2 separate regions of the Homo sapiens genome follow, and region 2 is linked to region 1. Evidence: promoter capture Hi-C in human tissues and cell types (Jung and others, 2019). All regions are on one chromosome and are shown on one strand. The core of a region is centred on a gene start or on the middle of the fragment in contact, and the rest is flanking DNA. Distances in the headings are between cores, read along the strand shown.

Evidence for each region. The method cuts DNA at HindIII sites, captures the fragments that hold promoters and counts their contacts. A contact is called where the count stands out against the background at its distance.
Region 2: a fragment that was not itself captured here is called in contact with the fragment with the promoter of EYA1 in region 1 in 1 of the 25 tissues and cell types used here (lymphoblastoid cells).

The regions. Positions count from the first base shown.
Region 1 is chr8:71,357,873-71,365,173 of GRCh38, reverse strand. It overlaps EYA1 (EYA transcriptional coactivator and phosphatase 1), which reads left to right and starts at 3,105. Exons shown (of 18, transcript NM_000503.6): 1 at 3,105-3,527. RefSeq lists enhancers at 3,315-3,424, 3,177-3,698. The HindIII fragment of the contact is 13,424 bases long and covers 1-7,301 here.
Region 2 is chr8:70,930,155-70,937,455 of GRCh38, reverse strand. It overlaps a transcript of XKR9 not described here. Among named protein-coding and RNA genes, the nearest start is that of XKR9, 260 kb to the right of the region's middle. The HindIII fragment of the contact is 6,952 bases long and covers 571-7,301 here.

The DNA of each region.
Region 1 (7,301 bases), core at 1,856-4,355:
ACTTAATTTGATTAATCAACTGTTAACTCATGAAGTTTTAGAAAAGCCCAAGTTACCTTTTAGATTGTTGTAATGAGTTTCTTGTATCTGTCCTTGTCTCTCTCTCTCACATATATATACATGACATTTGTAATATGTATTGAATATTACAAATGTAATGTAAATACCGTGTGTGTGTGTGTATATGTATATATATATATATATATATATATATATATATATATATATATATATGACATTTGCTTTTTTTTTGATCATGCCCTTAACCTAAAACACTAAACTCTTCTACCAAAATTGAAGACTTCCTTCATATAACCAGGCAGGTATCTAGGCAACAGCTGGCTCTGTCACATAAAACCTGTTTGGTGATACAGCATATGAAAGATCAACTGTCTCCTTGAGGGTTTTCAAACATTTCATATCAGTTGAATATTTCAAGTATTTTCCCTTTCCAGATAAAATTATGTATTTTTTATTGAGGAAAAAGCATATTGGAAAATTTTAAAATTCCTTTCCATACATTTATGTATTGAGATTTACATGGCAAATATGAAATAGCAATGATTTCTTCTATCACCTTTTACTAGTAGCAATGTTCAACAAATTTCCCTAAATTTTGTAGTTATATGTATGACTGTATTTAGGGAACAATTTAGTCCTTAAAGTATATGGTTACGTTACATACTATAGTTATAGTTGGTGAAGATTTAGAAATAAGAGGCTATCAATAAATACACTATAAACTAGGTGTTGTTAATAGCTTAAATGTGGCTCTTTATCATAGGGTAACTTACTTTTGGTTTAAATTGTATGCAATAGTAATTATTACATATTGGATATTCAAAAGTAGTAACCATACACAATTTATGGGTAAACGTGATTGTTTTTAATCCATCTAATTTTGCTTCAGGAAAATGAAACTCTTTAAAAGTAGTAAATATGCACATGGATATTACTTTTAGTCAGTGACTAAGCTCTTTGTTACATAATTATGAAGCATGAGCTATACCATATCAATTAGTGGTCACATTACATTCATCATGATTTTACTAATTTTCTTCATAATTATATGCATCATTTATTTAATATTTCATTTGGTTATATAAATAAAAATTAAATTTCAACATAAAATATGTAATATGATACATTTAACTATAATGTGGGCAAGTAACTTGTATATAAATGTGACATACTTTACATAATATTCCCACTGTTTTGATTTTATATAGTTCATATATTCTGGATTTGTCAATATAATCTTTCATGGATTAGAAAAATAATTTCTTACTCTCTTATGTCTAAAATAATTGTTAAACAATTGGAAGCATGAATACAATAGCTAAATGTAAAATTTCAAGCATTGTTTAATTCTCCAACATCTCAAATTTTAGATTTTATAGAGCTTAGAAATAAATGTGGTTGCAAAAGTATTTACTGTTTGATATCAGATTGAATTACCACAACATTACATTTTATCTGACAATGCTAGAAATCTCCATTACAAGCTGTATTTTATTTTCTGCATATATACTTTAGTATATTGAATAACTGATACTTCTGGTCTGAGAAAGTGCAGTAGGTGGTAACATAATTCTATTTCTGCTGCATATATGAACAGATCCAATAGCAATCAACTGTGTTTTGACCTGGCTTCCCAAATATGGTAGATGACTAGCCCATGATTCCTTGCTGGTACTATACAAAATGAAATCCTAGGTGAGTTTGCAGTTTAAACTGTCGTTTATGTTTGACAAAGTGTTCTTTTCTGAGGAATTCAGATTGGCATACTTTCGGTGGTTGGGGGGAAGTCTGTAATAAATTTTGGTCATTAGCAGCTTTTTATTTTTTGTTTGCATCGGAATGGTGCTTTCATTTACATATTAGCAATATAAAGTTATGATTGTGTCTATGTGTTTTATTAGTTGACGATCTGGAAATGTATTATAAAGTCATGCAAAAAGTTATTGTGATTTTTAAAATTTTTTTCACATCTATCAAGCGCCTAAAAAATGAGGACGCTTTTTTTTTCCTTAAATAAAAGACCTAATCAGCAGAATAGTATTCTATGGGTGATGACAAAACAGTTTTAAGAAAAATCCGATGGGCTTAAAGATTTTATTTTAGAGCACAAAATTGGTTACAACGAGTGACTAGTATCAAAATAAACATTTGTATTTGAATGTTGGCACAGGTCTGGCAAATTGAGATACAATCATTAGTCACATAAACGATGCCTTCTTTGAATATTTGAAATCAACATAATGGTTAAGTCTTATCACCAAAGTCATGTATCTGTATAAAACATATCTTAACTGAAGCTCAGCTCTTTAGGTGAGTGTTATAGACTGTCATGCATAGATTCCGAGGTCAGTAAGAATTTTTTTTTAAAAGAATAAGCTGTAAAGAAAGAGTTCTAGATAACATGAATCTTTTCCAAAAACCATTTAAAAATATTAACACTGAAACATTATCTGGTTCATAGCCAAGGAATTGTTCACAGAAGATTTGCCATTCTAGAAATCATTTCGGATTCATCCTTCAGGCTTTCATTATTAAACTGATAAAAGCTTGCACGTTTGCTTTTTCATTTTCTACTTAAAGGGAAATGGCCATTCTAGTTTTTTATTTCCCCCAGACCTGTTTCAGTAGTAGGTACGTTAGTTAGGAAATAAATTATGAAAAGTAGTGGATTCCCTAAGTTTCAGGGCCTGAAAAAAGTTTAGGAAAAGTGTAAAAGATAACGTGTAACTACTCCCCAAAGATCTTAATTGGTAACTACTGTTGCAAGAGGACGCGTGTGTGTTGACCACGTCTCAGAGAAGTTATTCTCACACAGCTGTTTATTCAGATAGCGTGGGGCGCGTTCATTTACATAATTTTTTTTTTTTTAAACAGCAAGGTTGAGTCAGACAGAGCAGTGCTCCTTTCAATTGTTGCATTTAAACCAATAAGGTTAGGACAAGAGAATAGCTGTGGTTTGCGTTGCAAAAACCAAAAAAAAAAAAAAAAAAAAAAAAAGAAAGCCCCGAGGCTCCATGGGCAGACCTACAAGGCTGCGCAAACAAATCGAGGGATGAGATTCTGCTGTTTCTTTGTCTAGGGTTCTCAGATGCTATCTGCCGCTGCTGTTTGGTGGGGAAGGAGCGCTGGGCGCAAAGCTGTTACCAAACAGAACGGTGGGAGCTGATGGCTCCGAGTTTGGGGCGAGGTAGAAACTCTCCAGTGCCACTTCCGACTTTAAGCCTTCCTGTTGCCGTCCACTGTGGCGGGTTTCTTCCTGGGGAACACGTTTTCGCTCAGTCGCTCGGCAGCCCGAGCCTGCGGCAGCGGCCAGGCGCCTGCCCCCTGCGCCGAGCTTTCCCCTGCAGAGGCGCTCCACTCCCAGAAGCGCCGCGGCTGCACCAGAGCGCCTGAGAGCCCCCGCGCGTACCCATCCAGGAGCAAAACTATGTCAGGAATGGAGGTTTGCTAACCCAGAAAATTCGAAGGAACACATTAAACTGGTGGATGCAGCAGATGTAAGCGCTGTAAGTACAAGCTGACTGTTTGAAAAATTGTAGTGACTGACAACAGCTGTCCTGTGGGCAAAGCCCAAGCTAACAGGAGCGCTTTTATTATTGTTTTGATTTGTTTTCAAAGAAAAACATTATGGCATGGGGAAAATTATGACACTTTGTACCTAGTACTTTATGAGCCACAGGGTTTCATCCTAGAAGTAGAATTCCCAACCTCCAAATTATGAGCGATCAGGATCATTAAGAAATAATTACAAATTAATTGTTAACAATTACTTTTGTTATGCTCTAGATAAATGTAATGCAGGACCATATTCTTGCAGGGAGATGACTTCATATCTCTTTTCTGAATTGCTGCACAAATCTCAAATATATTTGTGTGGTATTGAATAAAGCGGTACATATATGTTCATTGCAATACATAAGTAACTTTTACACACTTTGATATGAAAAAAATGAAGCATTTAACATTTGAAAGGACAACAGATAACAACATTAAATTGATAGCACTTTTTAAGGAAGAAAATATTTTTGCTTTAATAAATTTCCCAAACGTTATATTAAACAAACTTATCTTCAGAAGGTGATATAACAAACATTTACCCAATTAATATATTTTTCTCTTATTGACACTTTGTAAGGCTTGAGTGGACCTTGAAGTTTAAAACAAGATCTGTAAACTTTTGAATTACCATTTAAAATATTTGCCATTCAAAATCAGTATATGAATTGTTAATGACTCATGGGTTTATATTTATTGGGAGGAGGTTTTGAACACATTAGAGCATAGCATTTGCAAGAATTCAATAAATTCAGAGCTGTCATTGAATTTAGGCAAACGTTTTTGTTTTATTTCTTAAAATGGCAAGGGGTACAAAAGGTCGATAGTAAGCACATAGTGTAGTTTTATAGGTTTGGGATTGTTTTTATAATGTGTCTTTCAAAGTAGGTTTTATTTTATGCTTGCATGAGTCTTTTCCCCCACAGTCTGGGGTCTGAGGACATGCACACATGTACAGTCATGCTTTTGCATTATCAAATATTTGATATTTGACTTTCTGCATGCTTGAGTTCTCCCAAGGCCCAAAGTGTTCAGTAAGTGAGCAAGCAGCCATGGATTTTCAATCTTTGAACATTCTTTGCGGTGACAGACATAGAGGCCTAATTGAGCCACTGTTCAGTTTTAGAGGGCCAAATGGAAGTCCACTGCTGTGTGAGTTTCATAGACATGATAAATGATTTTCTCAAAAGAAAATTTCCATTTGTGAAAATCGTATTAAGAATACATTGTAAAGAAGAAAAACACTTGCAGCAAGAATAAAACCACTTGTTTATCAAATATCAAAAGTATTTCATTCAACATTTTAAGTAAATTGATATTGAAAACAATCCTTTAAAGCTATTGGTAGCATCCATGTGGTTTAAATACTTATTTTTGTTTTCATGCGGACTCTATTTTGTCATTTTCTTTAAACGACGCATTGCAAAAAGTAATGTACTATACTACTTGAAAATAATCAGCAGTAGTATTAAAGCATTTATTTTATGGAGTCTTTGATAAAGAAGGAAATATAGTGTTAACATTTAAAAAACATTGACGTCTCCCTAGAACTTCATTTCAATTTTAGGTTTAGGTTTTTATTTTTAAAATTTAAGTTTTCATTACAACAATGATGCCATAGTTGGAGATATCGATTGAGGAGAAATTTTAGCAAGAATATACCCTAAAACACAGATTTATGGCTAAGGAAAATTTTTTTTACATAAAATACATTCTGATGAGAAAATTGCCATTGTCTTTCAAATTTGGGAGTACTCAGGTTGATCTGTGGTTGGACAAAACTAGCTTGCCTGCCAACTCTATTTATTTAGATAAGCTCAGTACTTTCACTTTGAAAATTTCTTTTCAGTTTGAAAAAAAAGTTTTAAATTATAGTCATTTTATAAAAATTGCTTCTAGCAAGCAAAAAAAGCCTATGGAAAACCCGTAATTTAGACAAGTACCTACATTTTATTTGCTCTGTGCTGCTGAGATTTAGAATCCCTTTCCATTTACAGTTTACTTTTCACAGAACATTATTAACTTTTTGGCTTCATGCATGATCTTCTGTCAGATGCTTTTGATTTGTAATTTAGCAAAGTATAATAAACAGTGCAAAAGTCATGAATTTTGCTCTGCATCCTGAGCTCTGTGGTAGGGAAAATGTGATAAAATGTGTACCTTAAGTCTTGTTTGATGATCTCTCAAAGCAAGTTTGCCTTCTGGAAATAATTTCTGGGGTTGAAGAGCATGGTATTAACAGATTTAATGTGGCTATTCAATGGATTGGCGAAGTACTATGTGAGGTTTAACAAAATGAGAGAGACAAATTGAATATCAACAAAAGTTACATCTGTGAAGAATTATAAATTTAATTAGAAAAAAGGCAAACTTAAAAGACCTCATTAACTAATCAGAAGTCAAAGTTACTAGTTTAGGATTCTTGAATTTGAATTCTAAGAAGTTCTGCTTGTTGCTATTTGTATTTTCACAACTCTGTCAATATGCTACTATGGGTATTCTATACAATGAGTTTTAAAAAGCATTAAAGTGAAATGACTTGATTGTAATATAAGATGACCATTTGTTATGTTATGGGAAATATTTTTGCACTCATAGAAGTATTTAAATTAAAAATACCAGATTAGGAGAAGACAAGAAACATGCTAAGTTTATGGGTGTAAAGCAGAAAATGTGAACTTACTGAATGCCTCACATCACTTTTCTAGAAACAATAAAAAATAATATTTTTCTCTTTTGAATGGAAATATCCCTAATTAATTATTTTCAAAACACATTATGGTTTTAGACCTTTACAAGACAGAAACTTCCAGAGATATTATCAAACATGAGAGGAAATCAACAGCAATCAGAAATAGGTGTTCTTTTTAGATAAGTCATTATAAGACTATGTTTCCTTCTGCACTGTAATCTTGTACTACACATAAAAAACTAAAAGCATGTGAAGTGTAGCATTTTGTAAACTGTAACTAATTTTGCTCACATCTGTGTCTAATTGTTGTCTGCATTCGCATTCTTGAGAGTAGATTTATTTTTCCTGGACCACGATGTGGATTCAGCTGACCAGCCTAAGTGAGGATTAGTTGTTTTAAAGTTATTTTGATTAAAGAGTCATTTTTAAATACAGTAACACACAACACATGGTTTAAATAATCCCTGAGACACAAAAGAGTATATCTGAAGTATACTTAATGAAATGTAGATCATGCATATGGACTTTCAAAAGTTGTAGAGTATGAAAATACAGTAGAGTCTAGTTGAACCAGCATAAAAGAAATGTGTTGTCGTGAAAATGCATGTTTTCACTGAAATGTGGTAGACTAATTCTTGTTTTGAAGTTCACTTTTTCTTTATTAACAACAGTTTGACTTTGAAATTTAAATATGATTGGTTAAAGTACAAATATAAATCTAACCAAACTTTCAAAGTGTATACTGAAACTAAAATTATATTTCCAACATTGTACTTTCCAGCTAATGTTAAAATGGAAATGTATTTTAACATTTAACAGAAAGAATGCTTTAAATACTCTTTCACATAATTAAGCCAGGAGAGTTCTTAAAACTAAGTTAGTTCTCACCTATAATTTATTCCAGGTGTATAAAAGTGGAGAAAAAAAAAAAAGAAAAAGGAAATTTATCCTTGAGGTATATTGCTGGACTTTCTAAAGGAAACCACTTAAACTTGTGTGAGAACATTAATTTTTAACAAAAATCGCAGAAGGT
Region 2 (7,301 bases), core at 2,797-5,296, 430 kb after region 1:
ATTGGGGGACCTTGTTAAACTACAGATTGCTGCTAGATCCTAATTTTGGAGATTCTGATTTAGTTGGTCTGGGTGGGCCCACATGAATCTAACAATTAGCCAGTTAAATCATGTGTTAAATCATGTTTGTTCACATTTATTTTGCCTAGTATGTGACTAATAAATAGTTCTTGGGATTGTGGGCTCTTAAAAACATATCTTAAACTTTAGTAAACATATTAATAATGATGTATGGTGCTATCCAACTTAAAAACAGGTTTTATCTCCTAAATATTTTCTATAATTAAACTTCACAGTCACAGTCACACACACACATACATACGCATATGCAGGAGGTTAATGTGGGGTGTGTGTATGTGTGCATGTGTGTGTGTGAATTTCCTGGAGGTATGTGCTGTAATTACCCACCATTCCGGAACCTCTCATATATCAATTTATCTCTGTAATCTGATCATTTGCTGCAGTTAGGGTATGTCCCATTTCTATTCCTCTGCAAAGTTCACTCATGTTTGTAAAATAATTACTCCAACTAAGAAATAAGACAGTACATTTTTTAAAAGAAAAAAACATAACATATCAAAGAAAAAGACAAAATCCTAAATGCATGCAATTTACTTTTTAAAGAAGCGGCTTTGGACCCTTTTCTACCCTGACATCTGCCTGGTTCAAGCAGCCTTGAAATGAGAGTTCAGGCACTTCTAAGAATGTTCTCAATCCAGGGCATTTGGTCCCTCAGTCGGGTAGGAGTCAAGGCAATCAACAGTGGTTTAGACTAAACAGGAAGAGACCCAGCTCAATTAACGGGACAGACACAGGAATAGTCATCGCATTTAGAAACAATGAAAATTTGAAAAGCATTTTGTTGCCAATAGTCAGCTAATACACACACAGGTAGACAATTACACTGTCCATCCCTTTCAAATGTGTCCGGTAAATTCACAAGATTTACAATCACTGTATTGCATCTAAGTTCTCCCACAGAGAGTTCATGAAAATTAACTCAATCTCTTATTTAAAATCATCCCAGACATGATTACGATACAGAGAAAACCAAGCATCCCTCTGCCTGGGCTCTTCCAGTGTAAGGAAAGCCACTAACTCTTTCACAGGAGCAGATTGTTTCAACTTAATTGAATGAAGTAAACTTGGGGAAATACCTGACATTGCCAACTTGACCTCTGCTAAGCCTTTTGAACTTCAATCACTGTCCTCCAACACAAAGCCTTCTATTAGGCTTTCAGCTATTTCCCCTGATTACACAGGTAGCTTATCTTAAGGATTCCAAGGTTTCAGTTATCATTTCTGACCTTATTGTGAGACAAGTATTATTTCCGTGCTGGGTTTTATGACTAAGCCTCCAGAGCTATTTGCTGGTTTGATTGAGTAAAGAGCATCTCATTTCAGTTTCTTATCCACCAAGACCCCATAACTTATTCTAAAGAAGGAAAAGTGGTTTTAGTTTATGAGAATACTAGTGAAAAAGCTCAAATAAATTAGCACTAGTTAGAAACTGTCCAAAATCATAATCTTTGGTTTTTTGTATAGATTTCAAAATTAAAAATGTAATTTGGAACATGGGGCAATAAAGATGAAAATTGTTTCCAATAACAAAGTGCAGATGGTAAAAAACAAAATGGCTTGAATGTCTCTAACAAACAGAATTATTCTTCTTCTCACTCCCTTGCAGAAGTAGTTTTGAATATATTGCCCAACCTGGTAAATAAAAGGTGCTTCAAATCTGAGTTAACAGCTAACTTTCTTATTCTTAATTCTAGATTTTATGTGCCTTTTAGAAATATACCAGACAAATTTAAAATATGGGAAAACATTTAGAATTCATCCAACTCTTAATTGCAAAGTAAAACAAATATAATTTTCTCTCAGCAGATTGTCAGTGATTAAAAAGACTGCTAACAGCCAGTGCCAGCAAATACGAGGGGGAAATACACTCTCATATACTGTGGGAGGACAAATTACTACAAATTCTGTGGAAAATGATTTATTTGTAATATCTACTGAAATGCAAAATATGCATACCTGGCAAGGCTATCCACTGAAGAATTGTTTACAATATCAAAAAGAGGGAAAAATTTAAGCAGAGGTTCAAAGTTCAGTGTTTAATAGTAACAATACAAAGTGTGCATAGTACATTTTAAGTAAGTAAAACTCAAAATACATTCTAGATAAATATATGTAATAATATTCCAATTTAGGGTATCAAATGTGTATGTGTGTGTGTGTGTGTGTATATATGTATATGTATATATATATGTATATACATATGTGTATATATGTATATATATGTATATATGTGTATATATATGTGTGTGTGTGTATATATATATATATATATACTGAAGAAACAGGAAGGATATATATCAAATAGCTAACCAAGTTATTAACCTTGAGAGGAGAAAATGTATGTAAGAGATACTCAGCTTCTTATTTTATAAAATCCAAACACATATGGAGGGATGAGAGTGATTTTTATATTTTAGTACATTTCAAAACATTTTTAACCTAGAAAAGTACTTTAGAAATCAGAAACCTATATCTAAGTAAATATTAAAAGAAGTAAATATCTATTCTTGTCATCTGCAGATAAAACCTCTATGAAATAAATGAGCTCTTAATTTTGGGGGAACTACATTTGTTAAAACGAGTTACATCAAGTTGGACTCTGCCTTTGCCATTTCTTGGTGTCCAGTTAGTCTAAATAAACATGCATAATTCATTTATTTTTGCATATTTGAAATACGAATTTGCTGAGGGGACACATGCATTGCTTAATTCTCTTCCCCTGTGTTATAATAAGCTTGCATAGTAATTGCAAAGGTTTCCTCTAGAAACTTTATTGTGTTGTTTGGTCCATTGAATGGAAATTTTATCTTCTTTTAAGTGGAATTGTGCAGGATTAAGGGATAGAATACTAAAATAGTTGCAATAAGCCTTTTGTCTATGAGTTGTTTTGCTTTACAAAAATAAAACATCGTATTTATTGTCCCAAATCCTACAGAAATGGATTGTCACATAGCAGGGTTTTCTTCATATTTTCCAAAACTGTATACCTTATTGCTAAGCTGCCCAAATTTCTTATCAAATTAAAAATATGAACATCAGCCCATCAAACAAGTCTCTATAGCCCCCTAAGTGTCATAGAGAGATGTTAGTATTGGCAAGAAAAGTTCATGAAGTCTATTACTTCTGCCAAAATTGCCTGGAATTTCCTGGCATTCCATTTCAACAGAATATCAGTTTAACAGTATGGCTGACCAATGCTCAACCAGGCAAGGGTCTTAAGAGTTAATATTTATTATAATATCCACACAATTAAGACAACATATAACTCTAAAGTAATTTTATACATACAAAAATACTTGCAAACTAATATGTTTATCAATTTTTTTCTTCTCTTTTTCCCCTTCACTTTTTAAATAACACTACTTATGTGGCCTTGAGAAATTTGTTTAACTTTTCTGAGATTTGGTTTCTCATCCACAAAATGGGGATAATATTATCATAATAAATGTTTACCATGAGAATCGGGTAAGTATGTTGCTTAGAACAGCTCAACAAGTGCTCCATAAATGGTAGTTCCTGATATAACTAATAGATACTGATGACAGCAATATGCAATTAAGAGGCAGTATTCTACTCTTGTGTGGATGTAGAGCAGTCCCTAGAGAGTATAAAAATCAAATCAGAAACTTTCAAAATAACTATTTCTGGGCCCCAATCATCAAAGACTCTAATTCACTCAGTCTGGGATTAGGCATAGGAATCTTCATTTTTCATAAGCACCCTCTAAGTGATTCTTATCACTTAGGAGAAACAGTGATACAAAAGGAAAAGCAGAGGAATGTAAAGGAAGAAAAAGGAAGAGAATATACTCCCCTGTTCCCTGGCAGCCTTCATTCTTTACTACCATTAACTACTTTCTCCAGATTTTGTGACTAAGAAATCTTCTCCTAAATCTAACTTCTATGTACGTTATGCCAGGAAAGACAAAAAAAAAAAAACTGTTCTTCCCCTTCATCTCCAACTCTGACTACATTCTCTTCCAACTTCAACAAGATATTGCTCTATGCCCTAAACGCCCTAAGCGTCCCATTATTCCTTTGGGTTTCCATCATTGTTGGTTCCTTCTAACACTCGTGGTGTAGGATAGAGAAAAGAAAGATGATTCTTAAAGACCAGCACATTTCATTTCTATGTATTGATCCCTAACCTAAAAGCATCTGTAGCCCTATCAGAACTTGGAATTCACACCAGCCCCTATGTTCTCTCTTCAATAATAGAGGAGCCCCTCATTTACCCACTTCTCCTTTACAGTATCCTCACTCAAAGCTACCTCTTCTGGTGAACAGTGAGCCTAATGAATATCTTGCCCCAGGAAGAAGGTAGGCCCGGGTTTTAGAGGGTCGGAAACCTGTCCCATTTGAGGGACACACTTGAAGACAAAGAGTATAAAAATAACTCACTTTCACACACACAAATATGATCAAGTGAACTGAAAGCTAGGGTCCGTTCACAGCCTTAAAAGTTGTTATGAACTGAATTGTGTTCCCCCTAAAATTCATATGTTGAAGTCCTAGCCCCCTACTGTGTCTGTATTGGGAGATAGGGCCTTAATGGAGGGAATTAAGGTTAAATGAGATTGTAAGGGTGGGCCCTAATCCAAAGGGACTGATGTCCTTACAAAAAGAGGACAAGCACTAGGGTTGTGAATGCACAGAGAAAAGGACATGTGAGGACACAGCAGAAGGTGGCACTCCACAAGCCAGGGAGAAGGGCCTCGGGAGAAACCAGTCCTACTGGCACCTTGAACTTCCAGCTTCTGCTGTTTAAGCAACCCAACCTGTAGTATTTTGTTATAATACTTTATTATGACAGGCCTAGCAAACTAATACAGAAGTGGTCCATGCAATTGAGAGGTCCTGGTGCTGAAATGTCATTAACTTCTCCCTACCTCCTTCTCTTCTAACAGGCAAGCTGAACTTCACATCACTATTATGGCAATGCCAACTCTGACCTAGACTAGTGGTTATCAAAGTTTGCTGAATATTTGCATCCTTAAAAGTCCAGCTCAAATACTGTATTCTATAAATTATTTAATCTCCTGAGATGCAATTAATTTTTCCCTACTCCATATCCTATCTCACATCGGTCTGCATCTCCATTGCTGCCCTTATTTAATTCTGCCTTATATTGTCATCAGTCATTATTCATATTATACTACCACATTCATGTTATTCATATTAATTAATATCTATATTAATTAATAATAACAATATAATATTTTACTTAATCATTTAAATTTCTCATGGGAAGAGACCATGTCTACTTCTATGCTTAACACAATAATTTGCACATAGGAAGTCCTCAACAAATGTATTGAACTGTCTAATACGTGTGAAATGCCTTGAGGTCTTTACTCAACAGAATCAAGAACATTAATTATCTCACTACCTACCTACCTACCTGATATGGTTAGGATGTATGTCTCCTCCAAATCTCATGTTGAAATGTGATCCTCAGTGTTGGAGATGGGGCCTTTGGTAGGAATTGGATCATAGGTCTGGATCTCTCATTAATGGCATAGCACTATTCCCTTAGTAATTTGTGAGCTCTCGCTCAGTTAGTTCACTCAAGATCTGGTTGTTTACAGGAGTCTGGGACCTTCCCCTTCTCTCTCTTGCTTTCTCTCACACCACATGATATACCTGCTCCCTCTTTGGCCTCTGCCATGATTGTAAGCTCCCTGAGGCTCTCACCAGACAACAAACAGATGCCAGTGCCATGCTTCCTGTACAGCCTGCAGAAGTGTGAGCCAAAATAAACCTCTTTTCTTTCTAAATTATCCAGCCTCAAGTATTTCTTTATAGTGACACAAGAATGGGCTAACACATGACCTGTAGAATATGTACATAAAATCAAAGAATTTTATAGCTGAAAAGGCCTTAAGGACCATTAGTTACTAGCTACTCACTTTATCCATTTGCCAGGCATTATTCAATAATTAATAACAGATCTAGAACTAAGAAAGAGGTTAGTCACGATCCTACCACACAACCTGGCTGGTCATACAGACCTGAACAAAAGCTATAGATGGACATATCCAGCCACCTTAGAATCATCTTAGAACACCATGCTGACCTCAGGGTAACCTTCTGATTATGATTCCATACCTGTTGGAGCTCTTCCTGTGTACAGAATGCACAGATCTCATTAACATGAGCATTGTAGATTATAGTTTTGTTTCTCACTGTAGTTAAATAAATTGGCACTCTGATTTTTTTTTTTTTTTACTTAAGCTTGAAACAGATTTCAAACTTCTTCAAAATAGTTCAACTATGTGGATATTTATTTAAACAAGAAAATGAATTTCTCTCAGTCCAAATTCAAATATCACGAAGTCTACTACCAAGAGTAATTAACAATTTGCCCAGCCAAACTTGGAACTAACTGGCTTGGGTCAGGTGAATATCAGATTTAGCTTTTGTGTTTAAACCCCTAACTTCTTCACCAGAAAGGTGAAGAAGGTTCTGATGGTGATGCTCTTTGGCATATGGACTGCAACATTCTAAACCATACCCAACCATCAATTCCTCCCATGCTGGTCTCTGAATCTAAGTGGCGATGACAGCCATTAGATAGACACTGCTAAAAATGAAGTGCTGACGAGAGAGAGGATTTATACCCCATTACCAATCCCCTGAGCCACGCCATGAACCTTTAACTAGGCATTTTATCATGTTGGTTGCCACTCTGAATTTTCTCTAATTTGTCTCTTTTTCAACATGTGGTATCCCAAACTAAAAGCAGTTGAAATATGTTCAGGCAAGACTAGTGCCAAGTGGCTTGAAATAATTTTTTTCTGGTTTAGAACATAATGCATCCATTAACACAGCCTGATATCACTTTGAAGGGATTTAAAATATCTCTCTTTTTTAAACAAATTTTGCTGTCTTGTTGACTTTAATAGCTTTAAAAATATGCTAAGGCATGGAGTGGCAAACTATGACCCAAATACCAAAGTGGTAAATAACTTTGAGAGAGATGACTAAGTCATCTTTGGTAGCCACTAAGTCTTCTCACTAGGTTCTTTCATCCTAGCCCTTCTCACAAGGTTCTCCTTCCTACTCCCCCACAATTCAGCCAGCCAAGTATTAGGAGCCCATCTCAGCTACATATTACCTCATCTTAACCAGAGCATTAAAAGCTAAGCTAAAGTCTTAGTAGATATAGGCTTATATTCACCTACTCCACCCCACCTACAACCACCCCACACTAACTCCCAG